2 separate regions of the Homo sapiens genome follow, and region 1 is linked to region 2. Evidence: promoter capture Hi-C in human tissues and cell types (Jung and others, 2019). All regions are on one chromosome and are shown on one strand. Each heading gives the region's core, a stretch centred on a gene start or on the middle of the fragment in contact. The rest is flanking DNA. Distances are from core to core; before and after follow the strand shown.

Evidence for each region. The method cuts DNA at HindIII sites, captures the fragments that hold promoters and counts their contacts. A contact is called where the count stands out against the background at its distance.
Region 1: a contact is called between a fragment that was not itself captured here and the fragment with the promoter of PKNOX2 in region 2, in 1 of the 25 tissues and cell types used here (H1 embryonic stem cells).

The regions. Positions count from the first base shown.
Region 1 is chr11:125,421,089-125,428,311 of GRCh38, reverse strand. The region is part of intron 10 of PKNOX2 (PBX/knotted 1 homeobox 2); the gene reads right to left. Among named protein-coding and RNA genes, the nearest start is that of FEZ1, 72 kb to the left of the region's middle. RefSeq lists an enhancer at 1,308-1,809. The HindIII fragment of the contact is 5,849 bases long and covers 2,264-7,223 here.
Region 2 is chr11:125,160,751-125,168,314 of GRCh38, reverse strand. It overlaps PKNOX2 (PBX/knotted 1 homeobox 2), which reads right to left and starts at 3,564. Exons shown (of 13, transcript NM_001382323.2): 1 at 3,539-3,564. It overlaps PKNOX2-DT (PKNOX2 divergent transcript), which reads left to right and starts at 3,706. Exons shown (of 3, transcript NR_125759.1): 1 at 3,706-3,974. RefSeq lists a silencer at 3,702-3,851. The HindIII fragment of the contact is 7,397 bases long and covers 685-7,564 here.

The DNA of each region.
Region 1 (7,223 bases), core at 3,939-6,438, 260 kb before region 2:
TTGGGTCCAGTCTTTCTTCCATTGCTTCATGATGCCACTTTATAGGACTGAGTGGAGGTGAGAAAGAGAGCAGGGCAGGTGTCTCTCTCAGTCCCCCACATGCTGCAGCCCGTGCACTGACTACGCATCTGTCTCCCTCTCTCAGACTGTGCTTCATGACGGCACTGGGATACTGAATGTATCCCCAGTGCCTTCCACATACAAATGACATACAAATGCCTGCTGAGTGAAGGAAAGCAAAAGCACAGCACTCAATGCTGTGGTTTGGGTGATGAGCCCTGTAGAGGCTAAGAAGGAGAGAAATGCAGTGGTGGGGAAGACTGAACAGGTCACATTAAAGAATGAGAAGGCTCTGGGTGGCAGTGGGAAGAGAGTCGTGACCCCATTGGGAGGGAGGCCACAGGATGGCTGAGTCTATGCATCCCTAGGACTTGTTCAGGCCACAGCCCTGTGCCTGGCACCCAGCATGCAATTAAGGTGTGGCGAACGTCTGAATAAGTCAGAGTTTTGTCCTGGAAGCTAGGGGAGGTTTGGGGGCTCTTATGGCAGAAGATCAAGCCATCCAGCATCCTCAGGCTAAAATCATTCCTTTTGATTGGAGTGGTATTAGAAAGTGGTGCTTGAGCTGTCTAAGGTCCCCGAGATGGGAGGTCTCAAAATCTGGCTCTATTATGACTAGCTATGAAATCTCAGGCACGTCACCTAACTACACATCAGCAAGTCATCTGACAAATAAATGAAATTATACTTGTAAAATGCTCAATAAAAGGTACGAATACTCTTATTATCAGGGGGTGTTACAAGGTGCTTAGAACTTTCTGAGGGAAAAGGCTGCGGTCAGCAGCCTTGGTGGTACTCGCATTATCGGTGGAAAAGGAGGAGCAGCCTCTCCCCTACCTCAGCATCCCCCAGATGAAGCCATCAGGACCATGTGTTGCTTTAATTCAAACCTCTGACCCTGACCACCATGCCAAGGCAGCTGGGACTTGTGATTCATACGGTATTAAGATTCTAACAAGAAAGTAGGCACATCAGCATTACAGGAGCCAATTTTCATTCTAATTGGGAAGGAGCGGAGGCAGGATGGGAGGAGAGGGTGCAGATGGCCCCAGGGGGCAGAGAGGCAAGGACTCTGGGAGCTCTGACACCTTCTGGGGTCAAGCCCTAGTGCCTGGCTCCAACCTCCCTATTTGTGGGAAAGAGCCAAGCAGCCTCCCTGTCCATAGCCAGCTGGTCTGTAGACAAAAAGCAGCAAAAATATGGTGATTTTTTGGCCTTCCCAGGTGCAAGGGCCTTTCATGCCTCCATGCCTTCGCACGTGCTGGCCCTCCTCTGGAGCGCGCTTCCTCCTGCCTGTCCTCGCGTGCCTTTCTGAGCTTCTGTGAGGGCCTGCCACAGATCACAGCCTCTGCAAGGCCCTTCCCGACTCCCTGAGGCAAAGCTGGTCACCGTGGCCTCTGAATGATTGCTTTTCGCCCACTAGATGGCAAGACATGTGTCCCCCACTAGGCCATGAGCTTCTCTCAGGCAGGGACCCCATCTCATTAGACATTGTTTATTTCCAGTGTGCAGACCAGGCACAGTGTGCAGACAGGCAAAGAGGCCAACGTTGAAGGATTGTGTAGTGAACTGAGGAATGAACTAGCACAATAAGGAGACGCAGACTTGTTTCTTGAGCAGAGCTAGTGGCCGTGCTGACCAGGCACAGTGTGCAGACAGGCAAAGAGGCCAACGTTGAAGGATTGTGTAGTGAACTGAGGAATGAACTAGCACAATAAGGAGACGCAGACTTGTTTCTTGAGCAGAGCTAGTGGCCGTGCTGGCTGTGCTGGTTCACCAGCCCACAACTGTTGGGCATCTGCCGCATCCTGGGTGCTGGCAAGTGAAAGATATCTGAAGTTAAGAACTCACAGACTAGATGGGAAGAAAAAAAGGAGGAAAAAGCCTCTCTATTAATGGGAAGTCTGTGCTAAGTACCCCTCTGGTGACAAAAGAAGGAAGTCCTTAGGGAAGGGGATTTCAGTTGGACTTTGAAGAATGGCAAAGCCAATCTAGTAGAGGAGAGGATGATGTTCCAGGCAGGAGCCTTGCACTGGGACTTATATTTAAGCCAGTAGGATGAAAAGTTCTTCCACTATTAACGGCCTCCAGAGAAGGAAATCCTCCAGCCTTCCTTGGAAGAATAATGTTTGCTGTCTCTAAGGAGCCTTCTGTTGTCGGGCCCCCATTCTGAGTGAATGTCACAAATACACAGATTAACATGCTCCAGTCCAGTGGGGAGCTATGAGAAGCAATGCCACCCAAAACTGGCTGGTTGCTCTCTTATGAATGAGGATAGAAAGCCCCTAACCACCGCCTGGTGCAAGTCCTCACCACCTATCCCTCCTGGACGTCCAGTATCTCAGGACGCACGCTGTGGGGCTGTGGGGTAAGTAGCAGCGTTTAGCAGCTCTGGGGACAGGTGTGTCAGCCAGAACATTCCTGGCACCACATCTGAGTGGTCATGGGAGCAGTCCAGCTCGTACACGCCTCAGACCACATGATTCCTGAGGACAGAGTCAAAATAGTCCTGGCCTCTGGACAGACCATGATTGGGTCAGCGCTACTTTTAGCACAACTGGCCAGGCTTGGGGCCAAGGAGGGGAAGAAGAATCAAATGAGATCACGCAAACCATCAAGGCACAGTGGCTGCTCTCTGATCATTATTGGATCACGGCAAACCATCAAGGCACAGTGGCTGCTCTCTGATCGTTATTGGATCACGGCAAACCATCAAGGCACAGTGGCTGCTCTCTGATCGTTATTGGAGGGAACTCCCTGGATTTGGAAGAGAAGGGCCCAGACAGTAGCTCTCTGGAAGTAGATAATCCTTCCTTGAAAAAGAAGTAGATACAGTTCATGAAAAGCAAGGAAAAGAAAAAGAAAAAGAAAAAGAGGTACAGAACAGACTAGAAGATGACAGAGCCTTCTCAGGGACAGCTGGAGCCTCACACGACTGGGCAGTGCTGCCAGGGAGTAAAGGACCTTCAGAGATGGGATCAAGTCCTGACCCACCCCTTAACATTGTGTGACCTTGACACACGCAAGTGACCTTTGTTTGTTTTATGTCTTCCATCCTTAGATGGAAGTAGCAAAACAGTGACTAACTCTTGGACATGGGGATGATTTAATGAGATAGTGCAGGGTAAGCCTGTGTGCTCCATTGACTCACTCTGTGCGATGCACTGAAGCCTCCCGGCATCATCTAGTTGAATACTCAAGGACTCTAGAGAAGGGAATTATGGTATTTACACCAAGTAGGTGTCTCAGGGCACTGTAGTTGCCACCAGGAAGTTCCGCTGAAATCTGACCTCAACTCTTTCCCATCTCTCTCTGATACCTCCCTTTATAGCCCCATAACGCAACTCTCCTCTGGACTAAACTGATACTAAAAGCATCTTTCAATTGAAAGAGTGAGTTCTGCCCAGGGGCTGGTTCAGAAGGAAGCTAAGCCAGTTCTGGTTCACAGGTCCTGGATATTTCTTTCATGCACAGCCCATTGGCAATTGTCCTTCCACCTCCTAGCCATGTAGATCTCACCATGAGGTGAGCCAGTTCACCAAGGGACACAGCAGATGGGAAGCCGCAGCCTGTCAGTGTCAATAGACACTGAGGTGCTGGTGGAGCGGGGCATGGAGGCTGATTCAGATCAGCGAGCTTCCATTAGGTTTCCTGCCATCAGCAGCGCTGCACCAGAGTCCACTACACGCTTTTCCCCTCCTCTCCCTCTTGACAGCTGTGGGGCCATGGGCTGCTGCCAGCCACCACTCTGGGGTGGTTCCACTCTAGGAGGGCCAGAGACCCAGAGGAAGGCAGCCAGGATGGTGGGGGCCCCAAAACGACCACATTCCATCACATCTAAGAGGCCACTGATGGTGGGATGTACCCAATTTCAGAGATGTTAAAATGGAAGAAAAAAAAAGTCTTTTAGAATAAAGAGAAGCACAATAAGTCACCCGAGAAACTTCTCTTTCTGTAGTCATTGCCCTTGTTCATGCTTTCCATTCTTTTATTTTTGCTCTCATTTTTATCCCTGCTCCCCTTAAAACTGAACACTCAGAAAAGTACGAAGAAAAGCAAACACCCATGTAACCACCCCCAGGTCAAAAAAATAGGATACTACCAGCACCCCACAAACCCCCTTCTGTCCCCCCAAACACCTCTCCAAAGATCTCCTGACTTTTGCAGTAACCACTTTCTTGCTTTTCTTTATAGTTTTGCTATCTGTGTTACATCCTAAACATGATGACCTAGTTGACATCAGGTTTTTGAACCTGATGTAAATGGAATCATTCATCCATGCTGGCTCTGTTTAACTGTAATTGTTCCTTTTAATCGCTGTGTAGTTTTCCACTGTGAAGACACACTGCTGTCCCATTCTTCACCTTCCTGCAATCTCAAAACTATTCTCTTTCCCTCTGGTTTCTGTGTCAATCTATGCTTCACAATGCCAGCAAGATGGGTCCTTCTTAACCTCCTCCCCATCCCCATCCCTGATAAGTGAAGCCCTCTCAGATGCCCCTTCTATGAGCTCTGAGCACTTGCCCTATCTAGGATTCTTCCTACTACAGGGGCTTTGGGTCTGTGTAGCTACCTGTCACCCCAAGGGGCAGGCTGCAAGTGTTTTGAGAAAAGGGACCATGTCTTTCTTTTCAACCCTACCTCACTAGCACCAAGGAAAAATGTGTGGCATGTAGTAAGTGTTCAGTATGCATCTGTTGAATGAACGAACACGGGGCCTTCGGAGTAACTGGTACTTCTCACCATTTCCTGTGGGCATCTGCAGGTTAAAGGTGAGTGGGGAAAGCATCAGTGATCGGACCTCCCAGGAGCTCCACCTAGAGGCAGGTTGCTCTACTCACTAATAATGCTGCTTTTTCAATTATTGTTGAACGTATATTCAGGGAGGATGTGGAAGAGAAAAAGGGGGTACTTAAGAGTCCATTAAGGCACACCGGTCACCTCTCTAAAGAAGACGTGGAGGCAGTACTGTTAGAAGTACGTGAGAACACGGACTCTAGAGTCAGACTGCCCAGGTTTGAATCCTTGTCTTGTCTCTAACCGGCGTGAGACCTTGGGCAAATTACTTAGTTTCTTCTTCTGTAAAATGGGAGAGATAATTCCACCTGCTTCAAGGTTGCTATAAGAATTAAATGAGTATATATGTATATATGTGTATATACATACGTATATATGTATGTGTATACATATGTGTGTGTGTGTGTGTGTAGCTAAACTGATCAGTATCAGTAAATGAGTTAATATACGAAAGCTATTTAGAACGGTGCTTAGTGTACTCTGTGTTTGTTAAATAAATAACAAATAAGTCTGTAGCTTGACGCATGTGGCTGTGTCTCTGAAGAAGCCACAGGTTGTTTCCTGGCAGATGGCAGGAGCCTCCCAGCAGCCCCTTCTGTGAGCATACAAATACGCTCATTTTTTCAAATGGGTTTTATTTCCTGCATGTACTATGATGGGGACATTTTATCCTAACCTGAGTCTTAAGCTTCTTGGGGAATGCTGTGAGGTTGTAAATCTCCTGCAGCCATTTTTCAGGTGGACTTTCTTAGAGCTGCAGCCCTCTGGGGTGTCCTGGGGCTCAGTGCAACCCAGGGGTCTCTTGCACACCTTCCCTTTTCAGCGCCTCCATGCAACCCTGCAGCTGACTTGCCTGTTGTCGACAAGGCTCAGTCTTGGATGGAGAAGCATCAATCCAATTCTTCCTTCCCTGGGGACACATTGCCAGCAGGGCACACACCCTGGGACAGCGCTACACCAGGGGATGCCTCCGACAGTCAAACATCACTCCTGGGGAGTTGGAGGGCAGCTTCTCTCTAGATCCCTACAGCGAAGGATGGGTGGAGAAAACACTCTCACCCCACAGGCAGGAGTCTGAGGTCTAAGATTTCTCTGGGACAAAGAGAGAAATGTAACCAAGAACCCAGCTGGCCTGACCTCCTTCCTCCTGGTAGCCGTACACTAAAGGCCTTCAGGCACAGATGCCTGAACAGCGTCTAGAATGAAGACAGTCGTGGCTGGGGTAAGGGGCCACAGTGTTCCCAGGTTTCAAGAGTGAGAATAAGGGGTGAAGAGGGTTTGAGGACCACAACAACTTGGAGCGAGGGGTCACTCCCTGTGGCCAATACGAATCATAGGGGCATTGATGATTATCTAAGAGATAATTGTCATCCAAAATGACCCCTCCTTTTTCTCTTCCTACCCAATCCTAAATCCTAGCCATCCTTCATAAGGCCCAGCCCAAATGCCAGCTTCTCCAACCAAACCCTGTTAACCAACATCTCAAGATTACACAGAGCTCTCAGGGTCTCTGTGTCCAGCTTCTCCCACAGGGCAGGAGCCCTCTACACCAGCGCTTTCCAGCCAGCATACCCCAAGAAGGTGTAAGTGTGCAGACAGCGGTGTCCTTGGCCCCGGATGTGGTTTGCAGAGTCTGGAGCAGCAAGGGCTCCCCGGCTGGTCTCCGGGCGTAAGCAGCCTGGTGGCTTGACTATCATTTTCTATGTGTGCTGACATAAAAAATGTGACATGCCGGCCTGCAAGGCCACCATCGTTCAGTGCATAGCCCTTTGCTCTGACGGGTAGGAAGGTGTTTCTGCTGAACACGTGGCCACCCTTCAGGCACTGTGTTTTCTAACATATTGTCAATCCTATTCATCATAGGTAGCATTTCTATCTCCATTTTATAAAGAGGAAAGCAATATCAGAGAAGTTCATTAACCTGTTCCAGATCACACAGTAAGTAAAATTAGAGCTTGGACCAACTCAAGCCTATCTGCCTCCAAAGCCCTTGCTCCTTGCGCTACACCATGCTGCCATAAAGGAACAGGCTGCCCGAGTCTTCTTTTCTGCAGGCAAGATATCCCCAGACCCCTCAGCCGCTCCTCACATGACATGCTTCCTGTTAGGGTCACTGGAAGAAACATCTCCCCATCCTGCCTGCCCCCTCTGAAGATGATTGTCAAAGAACCTTTTGCAACCTGATTCTAGTGCCTGGACACACTCTTCTGGCTCTTGAGCCACTCGAGTGTCCGTGCTTGTATAATAGCACTTGATTACGTCGTGGGTTGACCTCTCCTGGCTTATGTCTATCATTTATTTCCCCAATTACATGATCAACCCCCTTAGTGCTGAAATCACATCTCATACCTGAAATTTGGGTGTTC
Region 2 (7,564 bases), core at 2,315-4,814:
GCCTGAGCCCACTGCAGTTTCTGTGTTAGGACCTAGTCAAAAACCTTGTCATCTCACCTTTTGTGCCAAACAGATTGAAAAAGCAAAAAGCACTGAAAAACAGCCTGCCTTGTTCCTTCTCAAGGTTCCCAGGCATTTAAACACATTTATCTTACTAAACGCGAGGCAAAGCCCCTCCCCCAGTCCCAAGTAAATATTTTAGTTGCAGTTTGAATTGGCAGCTGGGCTGAAATCCTGAAATCCAGTTTGGGTTTAACTGAACAGGGGTCAGGCCTACCTAAAGCAATGCTGGGAGAGGCTGCTGGGGAGGCACCAAGCAACATTTAAAGGCAGACTCAGTGAAAGCCCAAAGGCAACACGAGAATGAACAGATGAAACCGGACTGGAAAAGAAGCAAACTCGTCTTTCAGAATCACTTGGACATTAACTTTTATTAATTCTCATTGTCACATGGCACCCTCCCCCAAGCTCTGCCATGTGGGATCCAGCAAGCTCCCTCTTTTTAAACAGGCCCATTTTGGAAGAGTAAAGGGGAGGTACTGGATTTGCCACTGCCACACAATAAAAGCCCCTTTTGAAAGCAGCACTTTCATTAACTTAAAGCAATCTATAGACTTAAAAGCAGAGAGCAGTAAACTCCCAGAGAGGATCATAAAACAGCCAGTCTCAAGTTGGGTATACTTCAGTGCAATTCGCACGAGGCATTTTACTGTGAGCGGTGGTCGGGCCCATCTCCCTCCGGTAACCCCCTGCCCCTTATTCTGAGCAGCCTCTCTTTCTCTTGGCTTTCAAGCCTTTCCCGCTCACAAAGGGGAGGCGGTGACCAGGGAGTCTCCGTGGGGTCACGGCTCCCTCCCCCCTCGGGCTCTCAGCGGGAGAGAGCTCTCACGAATTCCAAGCCTACAAAACAACAGCCTTGGAGCTCCGCGGCGGCAGTCGCCGCGCCCCGGGCCGCCGAGGCCACTCGTGGGTCGTGGGTCGTGCGTCTTCCGTGTCCTGTAAGGGCTGTCTGGCTCTCCCTGCCAGGGGTGCAGGGGGCTGGGATGGTGGGTTTAATATTAAGAGGAGGAAATCTCAAATCTTCCTCCCCTCAATGCCCTCCTCCCCCCCGCTCCCACCCCCCACACACACTCTTTCTCTAGATGCCCAGAGAATAACCTACCTCCCTGGTCGGGACCCCTTCCCACCCCACACCCCACAGCTAGGCCCAAGCTATGGGGATGCAGCCCGAGTGGGAGATTATGAGACCAGAAACGGGACCCTCCCTCCCCGCTTCCACCAAGGTCCTGGGGCCTCCGAAGGCCAGAACGGCAGAGAGAGCAGGAGGGCAAGGGCAGGGGCTTTGGGTAATACACCGTGTTATGTTTGAACACCATCATTCTCAGATTTGGGGCGGGGAGGATCGTCTAAACTGCCTAAAATGCGAAGCTTTTGGCTGCCACCGGTTATAGAGCATTTGAAACCCGAAAAGCTAATATCCTGAAGTCTCCGGACAGGAGAGATGACAGTAGGGCACTCCAAGCTTCCTCCTCCCCCGGGCGCACCAAAGGCCGGGTTTGTGGGCTTCTCAGTCCGGCGCGGGTAAGCACAGGAAGCGGCTCCAATCAGGGCACTGGAGTTTGAGCCGGTCCTACCCTGGGCCACAGCCCAGACTCCTCGGCCCACTGTGGCACCTCGCTGCTAGCGCTGCCCCCCGGCCTTCATCGCAGGCCGCGGCCCCTGCGGGCCACCGCTCCCGCCCCGCCGCGCTGCGCCCGCAGACCCAGGTGGCTCCTGGAGCACTCCGAGCCGCCTGGGTCGGGACCTCAGATCCACTCCCAGCCCCGCGAGGCTGCCCTGCCGCTTCGCCCAGAAGGTCTCTTCGATCTGTCCGCTTCCCGGAATCGCTCTCTTAGGACCGGGTCCTGTGTGGCCCAAGTCCTCTCCTCCTAAAGAAACACTTTCAGGGGGAAGCAGCAAAAATTCGGGGCTCGCCTGCCATGGCTCAGATCAACTACTTTCATCGCCTACCTAAACGCTTTTTCACACGCGGAGCTGCAGGACCCCTCGTGCTACCCTCCCCAAATTCCAATAGCTTCCACCACAAGAAAAAGCTGTGATCCTGTTACTGAATCCTAAAAACGCCACCCGTTCCTCCAGCCCCCAACTCCGACCTCCAGCCCTCTGCTCTGGCCGGCGTGTAAACTACTTATCGGCCCCTCGATCCCGATTCCGTAAACAGTCTGGATCCTATAAACCGAACTCTAGACTGGTCCTAAAACCCAGCCCTAATTCAGGCCGATCCACAAGCCCCTACCCCTCAATTCCCAACCCGAGTCTCCCCACCGCGCGGAAACCCCCGGCTCCCCCGTGAAGAGCCCCGGGAAAGGACGGCCCATTTCGCTCGTTTCTTCCTGGGGATCGGGAGCCAGGAAAGCCCGTCTCCTAACCCGAAAGAAATGCAAACTTTGAGCGGCAGATTCGGGATCCTGCGCCATCCCCCTCAGCTCTCCGCTCTCGATCGCTTTCAGTTCCCTCTTTTACGAACTCATCCCCTAGTTCTCGAGCCAGAAGGGCTCCCGATTCCCAAGCCTCGCGCGGGCCCCTACGCCCGCCTCACCAAAGATCCCCAGCAATCATGGAAAGCCGGTGACCCTACACATTCTCGCTCCTCCCTGGGTGAGGGTCCGTGCGTGTAGCCCCTCGGATCCTGGCTTCCCGGGCCCCGCCGGTGTTCCCCTGTCTCCACTGATCCGTCTGCAAACCCTCATTCGCCCTGCCTCCCCAGGCCGCGGCCGCGGCTCCTCGACTCCTCCGGTCACCTGGCCCCAGCCTGGGACCGCTCCCGCCTCCAGCCGCTGGAAAGCATCTCCAGGCTGGTGGCGCGGAGTAAGCGCCGGCCCCAAGGACGCCCGAAGCCGGGAGAAAGAGAACCTGGAGCCTGCCCGCGGTTCCCAGCCTCTCCCCGCGGAGCGCCCGGCCGGGAGCCTTCTGCACCCGGGCTCGGGCCGGCGTGCCTGTTCCTATTCTCGGGTCCCCTGGCGCTCCTGGCGCACAGCTCCCCGCCCGCCCGCTACGGGGTTGGGCCCGCGGCGATTCGAGTCCGCAGCCCGGCTCCTTGCACCCGAGGACAATGCGCGGCCGGCCACGGGCCCAAGCGCGGCGAGGCGGCGGCGGCGGCGGCGGCGGGGCTGAGCGCTGGCCGGGCAGGGGAGCGGGCGGCCCGCGGGGCTCTCGCAGCCTCCGTGCCCGGCCTCGCCGCCCCTCGCGCTGCTCCGCTCCGCGCTCTCCCGGCGCTTCCCCAGCTTCTCTCTGCACGCTCCCGCCGTCCCTCGCTGCTCCCTGCCTCCCTCCTCCCTGCTGCCTCCCTCTCTCTCCTCCCTGCTGCCTCCCTCTCTCCCTCTCTCCTCCTTGCCCTGTCGCAATGAATAATACTCTGGCTTGGGGACTGGAATAAAACACACGCGCTCTGAGGCAGCCGCCCGCAGCAGCAGCCGCCGCCGCGCCGCCGCCGCCGCCTGCAAAAGCGTCTCTGACATGGAAATGAATGACAGCTTACCTGATGCCAATCTTCATCAGACTGACACCGGCGTGACAACACAGCCTATACTTCCCAGCACTGCTCGGGACGTCAGCGGCACAGGGACCCGCCCCCCGGACCCCCCCTTCACACACCTCCCCTCTCCCCACTCCCCCTTTTCTCCCCACCCCCCATCACCCCCACCCACTCCCGGCCCGGCCGCTGCCAAGTCGGAGGAGCCGCTGGAGTGTCTCCCTCTACCGGAGGCTCTCGGGCGGCGGGCGCGGGCCTGCTCCTGCGGCAGGGAGGCGGGCGGCCTGGAGAAGCGGCTCCGCTCGCGAGGAGCCTCGGATGGGGAGTGCGGTGGACCCCCAGGAACTCTGGAGCACCCTCCCGCCCCCAAGCCAAGTCCTCCTTAGCGAACAACCGGGGCCGAGTTCCAAGATATCACCGGTGCTGAGGGGACCGAGATGAGGTGAGATTTTCTGTGGACCCCAAGAGAACTCCCCAGAAATGATGAAACTTAAAACGGGCAAGAAATCCTTCCTTCCACCAGCACTCCCCCTCCCCCTTTTCCTGCCTGGCTGGCCTCATTTTTATGATTGCATTTGAATAATTCTCATTACCCTGGCCCCAGAAAAGGTGTTCAGATGACACTCTGGTTAGTTATTCCTGGTCTCAAGAGCTTTTTCTGCTGTGGGCTTCCCGGGGTGTCTGGTTCAAGGTGGGGCAGAGGGAGAGAGGAAAGAGTGGATAGGCTTTGTCAGTAAAGCACTTCTTTGCAAATGTCAGGCAAGCCTGTTCTAAGCCACTGCTATTTTCATTCTAATAAAAAGTCCTCAAGAAACTCAGTGAGTTCCCAGAGTTCTGGGGGCTGGGGTGCAGTCATATAAAGGGAAAGACCAGCTGGGCTGTTTCAGCCTGGGCCTGCTGGGGTGGCTTCATCTACATCAGGGAGGAAATGGGCTCCTTACATGCCCTCTACAGTGGAAGACAAAAGCAGGCATGTGTAGACCCACAAGCGCCTCCATTCACTCAGCAGAGATCACAGTCCTACTAAGAGCCACACACAGGAGCACACTTGCTTGCTTCCTCAACTTAGCACATGGCCCTCCGCATAAAGGGACAAGAGAACCCCTTCTGCCTCTGGAAGTTTGCTTCTTGCTCCCCATAGAGGAGCCCTTTCAGCCAGTCAGGCAGCCATTGATCCTCTGACCCCAGGCCAGGCAGGGGGCCTGGAAGAAGCCCAGACAAAGACACCGACAAAAGCGGGAAAGCAGAAAGTGAAACCCAGCCTCTGGGTTTTCAGTAAAGAATCTGACCCAAGAAGTTGAAGGCTGCCCCTGAGCTCTTCTCAGGCCTCTGGGTCGCCACTCACCCGCCTCCGTCATGGGCAAGGATGAGAGCTGTTAGCATTGCCTGGCTCAGGGGAGGCAATTGAGACCCTTCTTATATCACATCCCAGATACACACACTACTGTTTGTCCAGATCCTCCCAATACCCTCAAATCCACCCACCAACGTTGCTTGTGGGAGAAACTCTTCAGTGGTAGCCCCCATTATAGACAGATTAGAATCCTCTCACCTTCACATAGAACCTTCAAAAACTTCACTAGGTGGATTTATGTCACCCTAGCCTCTGATCTGCAGTCAGAGTCTCTGGCTGCTGACAGCATAATCGCTATTATATATTATACATTGTATAATAATATAATAATAATGAATGCACTTGCCCTTTTTATGTGGTACAGAAGCGGCCAGATTCTCCAACCCAGAGGCTGGAGGTCAGGCTGCCATAAACTCTCAGAGGGAAGCCCTCTTCAGATAAGGGAGGGGGAGGGGAGATCCATTTGTCTCTGCCCAGGACCCCTGGAGGGAGGAGTTTCTCTCTTTCCCATGGCTCCCAGTGAGTTGCTGCAGCCTGCAGAGTCAGAGGGGAAAATCAGGCTGAATTCACCCCATCAGAGAGGTGTCAGTGAGCCATAAATAGGACCGCAGGCAACAGCCTTGGATCACTGATTTACACCTGTCACACCCCTCGTTTTCTGAAATCTAGATCAATGCCCAACACTTTCCTGATATGGGAGATCCATTGCCATGAGCTATTAATTTTTGGAGTCTTCAAATACTATGATTTTCACTAATACCTTTTTGGTGCTTTAAACTGCACATCGTAGTTTTAAGTAAATATATCTTGCTTTGACTATTTTTGTCATTTGCAAGAGCTTAAAAAATGATTATCCAAAATATAACCATCGTTTTTATAATCACTGAAGGCAAATATTTTCCCTGCACCCACCAGAAGCTCTGCTGTGTGCTAGCACTAAGAATAAAGAGCAGAAGCAAAGAGGCTCAGGTTATGGCTCCTGTCCTCAAGAAGCATTCATTTGTTGAAGAAGACAAAGCGCCAATATGTAAAACATTAAGTAGCAATAATACAGGAATCAACAGAAGACACAAGCTAGTAAATACTTAATGAAGAAATGAGTTGTCAATATGTCAAATTCCATGAGTTCCACATCTCAGTTTTGGCTCTGTCAATGAGTAGAGAAAGGATAGAGTAGAAATTAAGAATTCACTACAGATACTCTACAATTTCTTCCCCATCATCCCTCTGAGGATGAAGAAGAGAATGGAGAGGAATGTACATGTTGTATTGCATAAGCCATCAACACACTGACATTATAACCAAATAGAAGTTTCTACAAATCCTAGTTATCACTCCTAAATTTTGGAGTTTCTGTTTGGTTCTGGGCCCTCTTCTCACTCTACCTGCACTTTGTCTGTGGTATAAGCAGCCCACACCAGCCCAGGCTGCCTCCTCCAATCTTCCAATGTGGGTGATCAATGGCCCAACTGAATTCTGCCAATGTCACAATATGAATAAAAATTTAAGACCTGTCTGTATTAGTTTGCTCAAGCTGCCACAACAAAATGCCACACACTGGATGGATTCAACATGAGACATTGATTTTCTTACAGTTGTGGAGGCTGGAAGTTCAAGATCAACGTGCCAGCAGAGTTGGTTTCTGGAGAGGCTTCTCCTCCTGGCTTGTAGATGGCACCTTCTCACTGTGCCCTCGCGTGGCCTCTCCTCTGTGTACACAGGCAGAGAGACAGCTCTGGTGGTCTCTCCCTCGTCTTATAAGGACAGTCCTGTTGGATTGCGGCCTAACCTTATGACCTCGCTTAACCCCCCTAAAGGCCCTGTCTTCATATACGGTCACATTGGGGGTTAGGGTGTCAACATATTAATTGGGGTGGCGGACACAATTTAGTCCATAATACCACCCAACTACAGTTCCCTTCACTCTCAACTTAATTATTTTTAATGAATATTGATAGATTGCGAGTTCCCTGAGGATGGGGACAATATCTTATTTCATCTTAGGATCCCTAAAACCTGGTCCAGTGCCCAATCCAGAAAACATATTAAAGAAATGCTTGTTGGATTGAACTGAATGAAACATCATTGTTCCAGTCCTAGTTGACAGACTTATCACTAGTCACCTGGAATATTTTGATAATTTTTTAACTGGTCTCAATGCCTCCAGTATCTCCAATCCCTCCTATACACTTGCACAAGGATGTTCTTCCTATAACAAAGGTTGGATCACACCTTGGTTTCTCCTGAAAATCATCAGTAGCTTTCCATTGCTTATAAGATTTAGCCTAAAAAGTTACTGGGCCTTATAATAAAAAGAAGGACCTTGAATGCCACACTCCTTACTTAGCAAGGTCTTCATGTTAGTCCTCATCTGGCCCTGATCCCCTTTCAGGCTAATCTGCTCCATTCCTGCCAACGCCTCCCCAACTCCACCTTCTAGTGATTTCCAGTGCTTCCTGCTGCATCAGAACCCCCACCCCAACCCCCGGGGAACTTCTTTATAATTCAGGGTTCCAGGTTCCACCCCTAGAGAAATCAGTCTGGAGAAAGGCCTTGGAGCCCGTATTTTAAAAGTCACTGCAGTTGTGAGGTTTGGGCACTTCCATTCTACCCAGCACTCCTGCTCCAGCTCATGGGCCCCAGAGTACATTCTGGATTCTGGGCCCTTCCTGTACTTG